Linked DNA regions of Homo sapiens: region 1 is linked to region 2. The links are contacts of gene promoters, found by promoter capture Hi-C in blood cells and fetal thymus (Javierre and others, 2016). All regions are on one chromosome and are shown on one strand. Each heading gives the region's core, a stretch centred on a gene start or on the middle of the fragment in contact. The rest is flanking DNA. Distances are from core to core; before and after follow the strand shown.

What was found. Contacts are between HindIII fragments. The CHiCAGO score rates a contact against its expected background, and 5 or more counts as called.
Region 1: a contact is called between a fragment that was not itself captured here and the fragment with the promoter of GRAMD2A in region 2, in 2 of 17 cell types (monocytes and megakaryocytes). The highest score is 5.9, in monocytes.

What each region holds. Positions count from the first base shown.
Region 1 is chr15:72,263,364-72,269,845 of GRCh38, reverse strand. PARP6 (poly(ADP-ribose) polymerase family member 6) reads left to right here. Exons shown (of 24, transcript NM_001323532.2): 3 at 2,175-2,371; 4 at 3,024-3,101; 5 at 3,855-3,949; 6 at 4,373-4,433; 7 at 4,675-4,765; 8 at 5,225-5,291. The coding sequence starts at 2,369. Among named protein-coding and RNA genes, the nearest start is that of PARP6, 5.9 kb to the left of the region's middle. The HindIII fragment of the contact is 4,663 bases long and covers 797-5,459 here.
Region 2 is chr15:72,195,210-72,201,184 of GRCh38, reverse strand. It overlaps GRAMD2A (GRAM domain containing 2A), which reads left to right and starts at 3,398. Exons shown (of 12, transcript NM_001012642.3): 1 at 3,398-3,454. The coding sequence starts at 3,414. PKM (pyruvate kinase M1/2) reads left to right here. Exons shown (of 11, transcript NM_002654.6): 10 at 530-711; 11 at 1,429-2,156. The coding sequence ends at 1,535. RefSeq lists a silencer at 3,251-3,670 and an enhancer at 3,781-3,960. The HindIII fragment of the contact is 8,362 bases long and covers 1-5,580 here.

The sequences.
Region 1 (6,482 bases), core at 1,879-4,378, 69 kb before region 2:
CTCACTGCAACCTCTGCCTCCGTAGGTCAAGTGATTCTCCTGCCTCAGCCTCCTGAGTAGCTGGGATTACAGGCGTGCACCACCATGCCTTGCTAATGTTTTTATTTTAGTGGAGAAGGAGTTTCACCATGTTGGCCATGCTGGTCTCGAACTCCTGACCTCAGGTGTCCTGCCCACCTGGGCCTCACAAAGTGCTAGGATTACAGGCATGAGCCTCAGTGCCTGGCCATTTCTGGAGTTTCTAATTCAGTAGGTCTTAGGAGGAGTCTGAGAATTTGCATTTCTAACAAGTTCCTAGATGATACTGATGCTGTAGGTCCACCAACCCCAGTCAGAGAATCACTAATCTGGAAACCTGACATTCAGTAGAACTGTATTAGAGACCTGCCAGGCACAGTGGCTCACATCTGTAATCCCAACACTTTGGGAGGCCGAGGCGGGTGGATCACCTGAGGTCAGGAGTTCGAGACCAGCCTGGCCAACCTGGTGAAACCCCGTCTCTACTAAAAATACAAAAATTAGCTGGGCATGGTGGCGGGCGCCTATAATCCCAGCTACGTGGGAGGCTGAGACAGGAGAATTGCTTGAACCCGGGAGGCAGAGGTTGCAGTGAGCCGAGATCGCACCATTGCACTCCAGCCTGGGCGACACAGCGAAACTCTGTCAGAAAACAAAAAAAGAAGAAGAAGAAGAACTGTGTTAGAGACCAAGAACACCTCTGTTTGAGGTTGGAGTAGCTTCAGCTGCGATGTGTGCAAAGCCAGTGACTTGCTGGTCTAGAGAGCAACAGAAAGCTTTTTTAGCCTGCTTTTAGGGTAGATTTGCCATCTTCAGCCATTAAAGCCTTCATAATTTCACAGATGAGTTTTTTGTTTTGTTTTGTTTTTCTGCTATATGTGGAGGTTTTAATGGAGCTAAAAGTTGCTGGTATAGGATTAGGAGTCTGTGGGATTAGAAGCGAGCAGGGAATTGTGTATGAAAGGGCTCTGGGTTAAGTAAAAGTTTTTCTAAGCAATTTTTGGGATAATTATTGCATTTTTCTTTGGGAAGCAGGTTCCAAGATGACTTTAGGGCATTATTTTGGCAATGACAACTGAGACCATAACTGCCAAAAGATGTTCAGTGTTGTTGAGGACTTTTTATTTTGAGATGGAGTTTTTGCTCTTACTGTCCAGGCTGGAGTGCAGTGGCGTGATCTAGGCTCACTGCAATCTCCGCCTCCCGGATTCAAGCGATTCTCCTGCCTCAGCCTCCTGAGTAGCTGGGATCGTAAGCGCACGCCACCACACCCAGCTAAGTTTGTATTTTTGGTAGAGACGGGGTTTCACCCCATTGGTCAGGCTGGTCTTGAACTCCTGACCTCAGGTGATCTGGCCGTTGAGGACTTTTTAAGTTAGCTATTGTTGCCGTATAATAGCTAGTAATACTGATGTTTAAAGAGAGATACTGGCTAATATGGAGAAATAACTAAGAATAAAGAGTCCAGAAATAATCCGATTCTGAATCTTAACTCTGGTGTGAGTTGGTACTCTGAAGAATTAACTGACAGAGTAAACATAAGCATCTTGTCCTGCCACCATCACTTTTGGCTTTAGGAGTTGTAACATTATGAGCTAGAGCAGGATCTTGCTCTAATCCCAGCTCTCCAGTTTAAGTAGAACAGCAGTATCTTGCATATAGTGCTTTTGTGTTTCATTATCTATAAAGAACTGCATGTGCAAGTGTGCATGTATATGCACGCAAGCATGTCTTTTTATATGCAAGTATCTGTATGTATAATAAAAGTGTATTAATAGCCAGGTGCAATGGCTCACGCCTGTATTCCCAGCAATTTGGGAGGCCGAGGCCGGTAGGTCACCTGAAGTCGGGAGTTCGAGACCAGCCTGGCCAATGTGGTGAAACCCCATCTCTACTGAAAATATTAAAATTAGCTGGGCGTGGCAGCAGGCACCTGTAATTCCAGCTACTTGGGAGGCTGAGGCATGAGAATTACTTGAACCCAGGAGGCGGAGGTTGCAGTGAGCCAAGATCGCGCCATTGCACTCCAGCCTGGGCGACAAGAGCGAAACTCTGTCTCAAAAAAAAAAAGTGTATTGATAAATACGTGTGCCTGTATATATACACCACCCAGCTATTAAGTGGTGATGAAACCCATTATTATCTACTTTCCACAGGACAGTGACTTGTTACCACCGCAACAGCAGAGCCTGCCATCCCCAACAGATCACCAGTTGTCCCTGACATCGTGCCCTACCTTGTCTCCCTTTGTGGTCTCCTAAATGCCCATCTCGTTGGCCTTGGTTCGGCTAGTGGTATGGAGGGGTGCTGCCTAGCACTGACCTGAGAGTGTGTGTGACCCACTGACCCAATGGTGAGAACTGACTGCCCACCTCTCCAACTGATTGTTCAAAGGGTAGAGGAGACAAAGTGCAGATCTCACCCTTTCTTGGTATTTTCCCTTCTACCCTTTTGGAAGATAGAGTGGCTATTTGAAGTTAAAGGAAAGGGAAGGGGCACAGAAACAGTATTACTTGGTGTGTTTGTGTAGTGGGTTTTCTTGGGGAGGGAGAGGAGAGTTAAGTACTTTAAAGGATAGAAAGAAAATAATGAGACAAGAGAGTTTAGGTGTGCTTGGGAACTGTCTTAGGTAATGATCCTGGAAGAGGCCAGCTTGTACTGGAACCCAGATATGCTTAGGAGTCAACCTTGACATTGAAGTCATTTGCATTTCTTTCCTACTGGCTACCAGAGCCTCTCAGTCATCATACTGAGACTTCAGAAGGCCAAAATTCCCTAGATGTTTTCCTCTGTCCCACTAAGAGCTAGTTTATGGATATGATCATATCAGGAAGAGACTGAGACTCTCACAAAGGGTGACATGAAAGGTGTAAAGGGATCAGGGCTTCAGTTATTCTATATTTCCCAATCTTTGTGGGAATCTGTTCCTCACCATATCATCCCACGCCTTTCCATGGGATAATAGGGACCTAACAAAGCATGATATCCTTATTTCTCACCACTAGGACATCAAAGGCCAGTTCTGGAATGATGACGACTCGGAGGGAGATAATGAATCAGAGGAATTTCTCTATGGCGTTCAGGTGAGGTTACATCTCCCAAGACCCCCGTGTTGGATGGTCTAGATATGTGCTGCTTTTTGGATACATCAGGAGTGAAAGAGGTTCTGGAGCACAGATGAGATGAGGTTATAATGTTGATGTGGTCTGAGCATGGTCTTGTCAGAGCTGATCCCGTGCCCTTGCTCTTTCTTTGGAGTCATACCTGTTCCAGAGTAAACTACATCCTCTGTATGTGGAGACTACCCATATCTTAATTAGACATAATTATTTTCTGACTTTTATAACACTAGCCAGTGGGGGTAGTTTCATTCATTAGGGTCACATCTTAAAAGATTACTCTGCCAGCGTTTGCTTAATGCCATCACTACCCAGGGCACAGTCCTGAGCAGAAGTACCCAGACTCTCAGAATGCTCTTCACTTAGAACCAATCTTAGGAAACCTGTAACTCTTCAGCCTGTTCTGAGTTGTCATAGAAGGTATCCTGGTCAAGGTCTGAGAGAAAAGCTGGAGATTTAAGGAAGTGAACTCCAAGCAAAAGCCTACATTTGGTCTGCTGAACCTTTTTAAAGTCATGATGAGATGGAGACCTCTGTTAATGAAATCCCTTGCTAGGGTCACCACTGAGAACCCCTTCACATAAGTGGCTTTTACTTCCCCTATACTGCTGTCTGATTTCTCCTGTTCCTGGTGTCTTTTCATATTCTTTTTATTATCTCTCTCTTTCCCTCGTCTTTTTCCACCTCTCTCCACCACCATTTTTGCTGCTATCTCAGGGGAGCTGTGCAGCTGACCTGTATCGACACCCACAGCTTGATGCAGACATTGAAGCCGTGAAGGAGATCTACAGTGAGAACTCTGTATCCATCAGGTGGGACTCTACTTCAGGGGTGGCAGGGGAGCAAGTCACTTCTTTCTGAGTTGTTAAAAGGCTAGAGGTTTTTCTTTTTATGGTATGATAGTGGGATAAATTATGAACTTAATGATAGAAAATGCTCAGAATAAATGAGCTTGGCTGAGAGTAGAGAGTAAGGCCACTTTTCTTAGGAATTCCCTCTTATCCTAGACCCCTCTGGGCCAGTAGTTTCACCTTTCAGGTAAGAAATGCTTTTGGCCTGGAAGTAGATCCTGATCAGGTAAGTGGTGTAAGGCTATAGCTAAGACCCTAGGTACAAAACTGTCATCCACTCTTCCCTTTCCCCTGTCCCCAGGCTCAGTTCTCTTTCCAACTCAGTTTCTATTCCCTTCTTTCTCCCTTAATGAGTCTCACCTGTTGTCACCTGTATCTCTATAGAGAATATGGAACTATCGATGACGTGGACATTGACCTCCACATCAACATCAGCTTCCTCGATGTAAGTGGGGCTAGTACCTGCCAACAACATGTCTAGCTGGACTTGTGGAATTTGTCATGTAGGCCAGGAGTCTTGTTCCCGAGTGCTGTATTTGGAGCACATATTCTTCATCTCTGTCTTTCCTAGACCATCAGCAGACAGTGGTGTGTACTGTCATGTGCATGTGTGTGTCATATAGGGGAAATTTCAGGTCCATTCGTCTATGTTGCTAAACTGGAAACTATTTCCCTTCTTCTTTTAGGAGGAAGTCTCTACAGCCTGGAAGGTCCTCCGGACAGAACCTATTGTGTTGAGGCTGCGATTTTCTCTCTCCCAGTACCTAGATGGACCAGGTAAAGGCAGTGACTTTGGGCAAGTGGGTGGTCTGAGTGTGGTCTAATCCAAAGCCCTAAGTTAACTGAGGTAGAAAAAAATTAGGAACAAGGTCCTTGGGCTCAATCTGCAGGCTATTGGTAGGGGCTTTTTAGTCCCCTGTAATTGGTATCTTCATCCCCTGTCACCTAATAACCATTCCCTAAAGGCCTTCTTGCCTAATGACATTGTTTTCTCTGGTTCCAAGATAAAATTTCTTTCTCCTCCTTTTCTCAACATCCTCCTGAGGATATTTCAGATTCATATGACAGCTTCGAGAATCTGCCCTCTCCCTCAGATGTTTTTTTTCTTCCACCGTTACTGTTTAGAGTACCCAGCAGCTATGATCTTTAGAATGTATGGAAGCTATTCCACTGAGCTTTGGACTCCAGGAAGACAAGAGATATGTACTTACTAGTAGCCTTCTCTTCTCTTTGCAGAACCATCCATTGAGGTTTTCCAGCCATCAAATAAGGAAGGATTTGGGCTGGGTCTTCAGTTGAAAAAGTAAGAACTTTGGTCTTTTCTGGTCATGGACATGTGAAGGAAGGAGAGAGAGGTGGAAATATATGGATGGACAGGCAGAGCCTTGGATGGAATGCCCCCTTCCAAAAATGTCTTTCTGAAATATGCCCAGGAAAAGCTAAAATAAATTTAGGGAGCCAGATTTAAGCTTGTGGAGAGAGAGTATGTGGTTCTTGGGTGTCAGAAGCTGAGACTTTCTAGAGATAAAAGAGGCTCATCACTACTTAGCATTTTTACTACCCTGAAATCAGAGTCATGCTATTCATATTTCTCTAGTGGTTTCTTCAGAGTAAGTCTCTAGGAACTCTAGTTTATTGAATGTGTTGAGCATTAAGCTAGGTATTTGGTATGCAAAGAAATGAAGCATATTTTCCACTCTCAGTGAAGTTTCAAATAGAGTCCACTGGATACATATTCTAATACAGGTGAATATGTAAGGTTTAGAAAGGACACTGAAGAGTGACTCAGTCTGTTGAAAGGGTGATGATTAATAATTTCCTTTTTTTTTTTTTTTTGGAGACAGAGTCTTGCTCTCACCCAGGCTGGAGTGCAGTGGCATGATCTTGGCTCACTGCAACTTCTGCCTCCTGAGTTCAAGTGATTCCTGTGCCTCAGCCTCCTAAGTAGCTGGGATTACAGTCACCCACCACCATGCCCGGCTAATTTTTGTATTTTTAGTAGAGATGGGGGTTTCTCCATGTTGGCCAGGTTGGTCCCAAACTCCTGGCCTCAAGTGATCCACCTGCCTCAGCCTCCCAAAGTGCTGAGATTACAGGTGTGAGCCACCGCACCCAGCCAATGATTAGTAATTTTCAAGGATGGATAAGAGTTGTCCATGTAGACAGATTCTGAGGGTGAATAACATTTGCAGGGGCTTAGTCACATAAAGCAGTATATGTGTAGGGAGCTTCAGGTAGTTAAATATTGCTGGTAAAATACAAGCTGGGGGTGTAGGAGCCAAAGCCAGAGAATAGGGAAGGGTTCAAGTTAGAGAGGATCTTGGACTTTTATCCTTTAGGCAGTGTGAACATTGAAGGGTTTAGGGAAAGAAATGACGTGGTCAGATTTATTTTTAAAAACCATTCTGGTAGCATTATACAAAATGGGTAGGAGGGGATGAGACAAGAGACCAGAACTAGTGTAGTAGGGTGCTTTTGTAAAAGTCAAGACAAG
Region 2 (5,975 bases), core at 2,149-4,648:
TTTCAGGAGCTAGGGGCCATGTGGGGCAGGGAGAGGGCACAAAAGTAGAGAAGCCTGATGTTGATTCCCAGGGGGCTGGTCAGCTCTGCTACTGCTCCTTGCAGATGTCAAGAGTCAGGTGCTAGTCACGTGCTGCTTGGCTTGTCACTGTCATTGGCAGCGAGAGGAATGGGTGCTGGTGACATTGGGCCAGGGCTGCCTCTCTGTGTCAGAGTTCAGGGTGTAGGAGGGGTTCTGCCAACCATGGGCTGTGTGGGGTAAGTGGGTGAGGCTGATCTTGCTGGGTCAAGGTGATCCTGAGCCCTTGGCCTGTGGAATGGGGGTAGAGGGCAAATGGTAACCTAGCATGCTGTGGGGGATATAGGATGAGGGGCTGCCCGAGCCTCGGGAGGGGTCCTAGGGAGCAGATGTTGAAGAGGCCAGAGCCCTCAGTGAGCTGGATGAGAGGGTGAGCTGTTTGAACGCCCTGAGGGTACTTCCTGGGGCCTCGTGTAATGGTCTCTTCTGTATGTCCCCCATCCCATCTCAGGTCTGCTCACCAGGTGGCCAGATACCGCCCACGTGCCCCCATCATTGCTGTGACCCGGAATCCCCAGACAGCTCGTCAGGCCCACCTGTACCGTGGCATCTTCCCTGTGCTGTGCAAGGACCCAGTCCAGGAGGCCTGGGCTGAGGACGTGGACCTCCGGGTGAACTTTGCCATGAATGTTGGTACGTGGCTGGAGCAGGGGCTAGAGCCTAGAGGAGCTTGGGGATGCTTGAGCATTGGCTTCTGTGGGACCCCGAAAGTTTGGGGAATAGAAAGGGGAACACACAGACCTTAGTGGGGCAAAAGGCCCAGCGACTGTTCCTCTCCCTTATTGGGAATGTTCATTCTGAATCTCTCATTCTCCGAAGTCCTAAGCTGAGCCAGGAGGGAAAAGGGTCCTTTGAGTTGTAGGGCTGAGCAATTCAGTTCCTCTTCTCTTCTAGTCTGGGGCTCAAAGCAAAATTGTCCATTTTTTGGCATCTGCTCATTACTGAGAGTTTTTTTTGTTTTTTGTTTTTTTTTTAAATAAAATTGGCCACAGCTCCTGTGCTGTGGGGTGGCATACACAGATTACGTACTGATGTGGCCATTGTCCCTGTATAAGGTAGGGTATCATCAGATGACAGGAAGCAGCTAGCTCTGACCCTGGGCAAGGCTTTGCACCCTCTCCAGGATAGTGAATGATGTCCAAAGGTCCCTGCCAACCCTGCCATCTGAGTGATAAGGACATTTCAGGGCCTTCCTCCTGTTTGCCTGGGCTGTGAGTTTGGTGCCACCTTGTGGTGTGAGGAAGTAGTGGTCAGCCAGCCTAGTTCAGTACTCAGGCTATGGGGCAGCTGCCCAGGTGCAAACCTGCCTGGCTTGGCTTTTACTCACCAACCTCCCTTCTCTTCCTCCAGGCAAGGCCCGAGGCTTCTTCAAGAAGGGAGATGTGGTCATTGTGCTGACCGGATGGCGCCCTGGCTCCGGCTTCACCAACACCATGCGTGTTGTTCCTGTGCCGTGATGGACCCCAGAGCCCCTCCTCCAGCCCCTGTCCCACCCCCTTCCCCCAGCCCATCCATTAGGCCAGCAACGCTTGTAGAACTCACTCTGGGCTGTAACGTGGCACTGGTAGGTTGGGACACCAGGGAAGAAGATCAACGCCTCACTGAAACATGGCTGTGTTTGCAGCCTGCTCTAGTGGGACAGCCCAGAGCCTGGCTGCCCATCATGTGGCCCCACCCAATCAAGGGAAGAAGGAGGAATGCTGGACTGGAGGCCCCTGGAGCCAGATGGCAAGAGGGTGACAGCTTCCTTTCCTGTGTGTACTCTGTCCAGTTCCTTTAGAAAAAATGGATGCCCAGAGGACTCCCAACCCTGGCTTGGGGTCAAGAAACAGCCAGCAAGAGTTAGGGGCCTTAGGGCACTGGGCTGTTGTTCCATTGAAGCCGACTCTGGCCCTGGCCCTTACTTGCTTCTCTAGCTCTCTAGGCCTCTCCAGTTTGCACCTGTCCCCACCCTCCACTCAGCTGTCCTGCAGCAAACACTCCACCCTCCACCTTCCATTTTCCCCCACTACTGCAGCACCTCCAGGCCTGTTGCTATAGAGCCTACCTGTATGTCAATAAACAACAGCTGAAGCACCTGTTTCCTCTCTTTTCTGCTGGGGAGGGGGAGGTGGTTGAACCCTGCCCTCTGAGCAGGCTGGGAATGGCTGCAGCCTCGTGCCCCGCAGTGGGAGCTATGGTGGTGTCACCTGCCATCCTGCCCACCTCCTGGTGCAGAGGCGCTGGGAAAGCAGTAGCTTACTATCTTAGGGTTACAGGTTGCCCCCTTCAGTGCTGCGGGGAGACTTTAATGGCTTACGTGAACCGAAGATGGGAAAGAGCAGGGACAAGGCCTCCCTCCCACTCTGGTAGATAAACCCAAATTGCAAAGTGGCCTTGGCCATGGTTCTTCCACTTTGGTCTTCCTGCATTAGCGTATCCCTTATGGGGGCTGTAGGAGGAGTCAGCTCTGGGCGCCTGAGACTGGGTTTGGCTCCCAGGTCCTCAGTTGTGGACCTAGGCTCCCCTTGGGACCCCTCCTGTTTGCTGGTGCCCTCCCACCATGATGCTGTAGTGCCAAAGGGCTGGGGGAGAGAGTTGGGAATGGGACCAAATCTGGCCTGCGCTTTTCCTCTCCCCTGACCACACTCCCAAGGACCAAGTGTCCTGGTGGGGATGGAAGAGGAAAGGGCCTGCAGGCCAGGCAAAAGCTCATTGTCACACTGAGCGCACGTGCCTCTGCTTCCCTGCCTTTGATTTGTGTCCACCTTCAGCCCCTTTGCAGACTCCTCCAAAAGTGTATTTCCTTGGAGAAACTGCAATGTTAACTCCGGCAAAAGTGCGTGGGAGCATCCTGGCTCCCGGGTTCGTGGTGGTGACTTGGCTGTCAGACCATGGTGTTCAATATCCCCTTTGGTGTTCCCCACTGACGGTAAAATTGAAACTTATCCGGAGCTCTATGTTGGGAAGGGTTAGGTTGGAGAGGGGCCGGAATTGGTTCCTGCAGAGGGACCCAAGCCGCAAGACTAGGACGACAGAAGCGTCCAGAGGGGACACAATACCCTCGACGTGAGGGACAGGAGGTGCCGCGCCAGGCCCTGGCCTCCGGGACCTCCCAGTCCGGGGAACCGAGCGCTAGGATCTGCTCAGAGCTTGGAGCCCCACCTGGGGAAGGTGGGGAAGGAGAGAAGCTGGGGAAGCTGGGGAATGAGGGGGAGGAACGGCCAATGGGCTGTGCCCGGCCCGCGCGACCCGCCAATGGGCGGGCGGGCGGGGCGGGCTCTCGACGGGGCGGGCGGGGTCCGGCGGGCGCTGGGTCCCGGCGCGCGGTCGGGGCGCTGGGTGCAGGCGCCGGGATGACCGCTTTAAGCCGGAGCGAGGCCACCGAGGAGGGCGGGTAAGGGGTTGCGGCCCGGGGGCCGGTCTCGGGGGTTCCGGAGGCCGCCGCGAGGGGCTGCTGCCGCGCGGGGCAGGACGGCTCCTGGGGCCGCGGCAACTCGGCGCGTTCTGCCCACGGGGCAGGCACTTCCCGGCCGCCGGAATGCGGGCTCCGGGCCAGAGCTGCACCGCGCGCCCAGGCGTCTCCCGGGGCCCGCGAGGTGTTCGCACTAGGACCGGGTGTCTTGGCTGAGTCTGCTGCGACCTGGGGGATGAGGGACGGTCCCGGCAGCATCGGGGCAAGGAAGGGCACCCTCCTCGGGACGCCCCGCATGGCCCATCTCCGCCTCGCCACTCTGTTCATCCTTTCATTTATTCATTCATCATTCGTTGCCCGCGGTATCGACTCCCAGTCCTAATTGCCCCCGACCCAAAGGTTGGATTTCCCTGCGTCCCCTGGAGGGCCAGACTGTTTCCTCTCGCCGCCGAATCCGTATTGTAGCGGCCCGCGGCTGCGGGGAGGCAGCTCGGAGCTGTCTCAGCACGACGCGGCCTCCCCCGGGCGCCAGGCCCATCCCGGTCGGGCGGGCTGGGGCCGGTCTCCCGGCCTCGAGACCTGGTCCAAAGTCGCCCTGGGAGAAAGGGATAAGGAGGCAGGGCAGACAGGAGCTGGCGCTGCACGTAACATCCAGAATTGTGGTTTCTGCTGCTTGAGGTCTTAGGGTCCTGGGAGTGACATTGTTTGGGGGAACCTGTCAATTCCTGCCCCGGTCCAGGTTCCAAGCCGCACAGCCTAAGGTCGGGTACAGCCTGGCATCCTCGGCCAGCTAGCACTGGGGCAGGTAGGATGAATGTGTGAGCCTTGTGTCCAAATCAGCCCGAGACACACAGGGATGTGGACCCCAGCGGGACTCCCTCTGCCTTATACTCAGAGGGACTGGTGGGGCTCCACCCCGCTGTCGTCTGTGTCTCTGCTCTGCTTGCCGCCCCACTCACTATGCTTGATTGTTTAAAGGTGCCCCTCCTTGCAGGGGCCAGGCTCCTAGGGAACGAGAGAGGGTACCCTCGCAACCTGATGTCTTCACCCCATGTCCACCTGTAGCCGGCTCTAAAGTCTGGCTCCTTTCAGAGCAAAGACTTATGGCCTTGCTGGGAGAGGTAGAATAGAGGGTGTCTATCCCATTCTTCAGTGAGGAGTCAGTATGCCCCTCCTTCTTTTTTCTTTTTTTTTTTTCTGAGACAGTTTCACTCTGTCACCCAGGCTGGAGTGCCGTGGTGGGATCTTGGCTCACTGCAACCTCTGCCTCCCAGGTTCAAGTGATCCTCCTGCCTCAGCCTCCCGAGTAGCTGGGATTACAGGTGCCCACCACCACGCCCAGCTAATTTTTGTATTTTTAGTAGAGATGGGGTTTCACCATGTTGGCCAGGCTGGTCTTGAACTCCTGACCTCAGGTGATCCACCCACCTCAGCCTCCCAAAGTGCTAGCATTACAGGGACTACAGGTGTGAGCCACGTGCCTGGCCCCCTCCATAGTCTTCTGATCAGGCTGGCTGGAGACCATGCTGCAGACACTCTTAGGTTTAAGTTTTAGTTTGACAGGCATTGAGGTAGCCTCAGTGGGCACCTCTGGGACAAATGGGCAGGTCCAGAGGGGAAAGCTGACAGAGGCCCCATCGAGCTTCCAGGAGAGTTTAGGCTGGGGCCAAATAGAAGTTCTCCTTCCCAACTTCCCCTTGGGAGAATTTTCTGAATAGCCTGAAGAGGGTAGCTCAAGCTCCATCTGTGCCTTGATGTTGCTGGCTGCTTTCAAATTTCTTTCTTTTTTTTTGAGACGGAGTTTTGCTCTTGTTACCCAGGCTGGAGTGCAATGGCGTGATCTCGGCTCACTGCAGTCTCCGCCTCCTGGGTTCAAGTGATTCTCCTGCCTCAGCCTCCCGAGTAGGTGGGATTACAGGCATGCGCCACCACACCCGGCTAATTTTGTATTTTTTAGTAGAGACGGGGTTTCTCCATGTTGGTCAGGCTGGTCTCCAACTCTCGACCTCAGGTGAGCTGCTCACCTCAGCCTCTCAAAGTGCTGGGATTACAGGTGTGAGCCACTGCACCTGGCCTCAAATTTCTAAATTTAGCAAGGCCCCAAAGCTTTGGCACAGACCAGAGAGACTTGTATGCTAATTCATCCACCTAGGGTGCTCCCGTGACCCCCTGAGGTTGAGGTCGGCAGTACCCAAGGTGGGTTGCTGCCAGCTGGCCTCTTGGAAGCTCTCCCATGAGCTGCTGCGCTGTTAGTGCCTCCTGGGTGGCTCCACCCCGCCCCTAACCTGCTTAGGTTCGCTCTGGTCCTTGCCTGCCACGGACCATGTTTATCAGCTGGAGGGAAGAGCCTCACTCTGGAATCAGAAGTGAGTTCTAAGCCTCAGGCTGTTCCTGTTTTGCTGCGACTTGGGACAAGTCACTTCCGCTTTCTGGGCCTGCTTTACACCATAAGGTAAGGAGATTGGACTGTAGGTTCCCTAAAGGCCTTCTGCATGCAGTCATC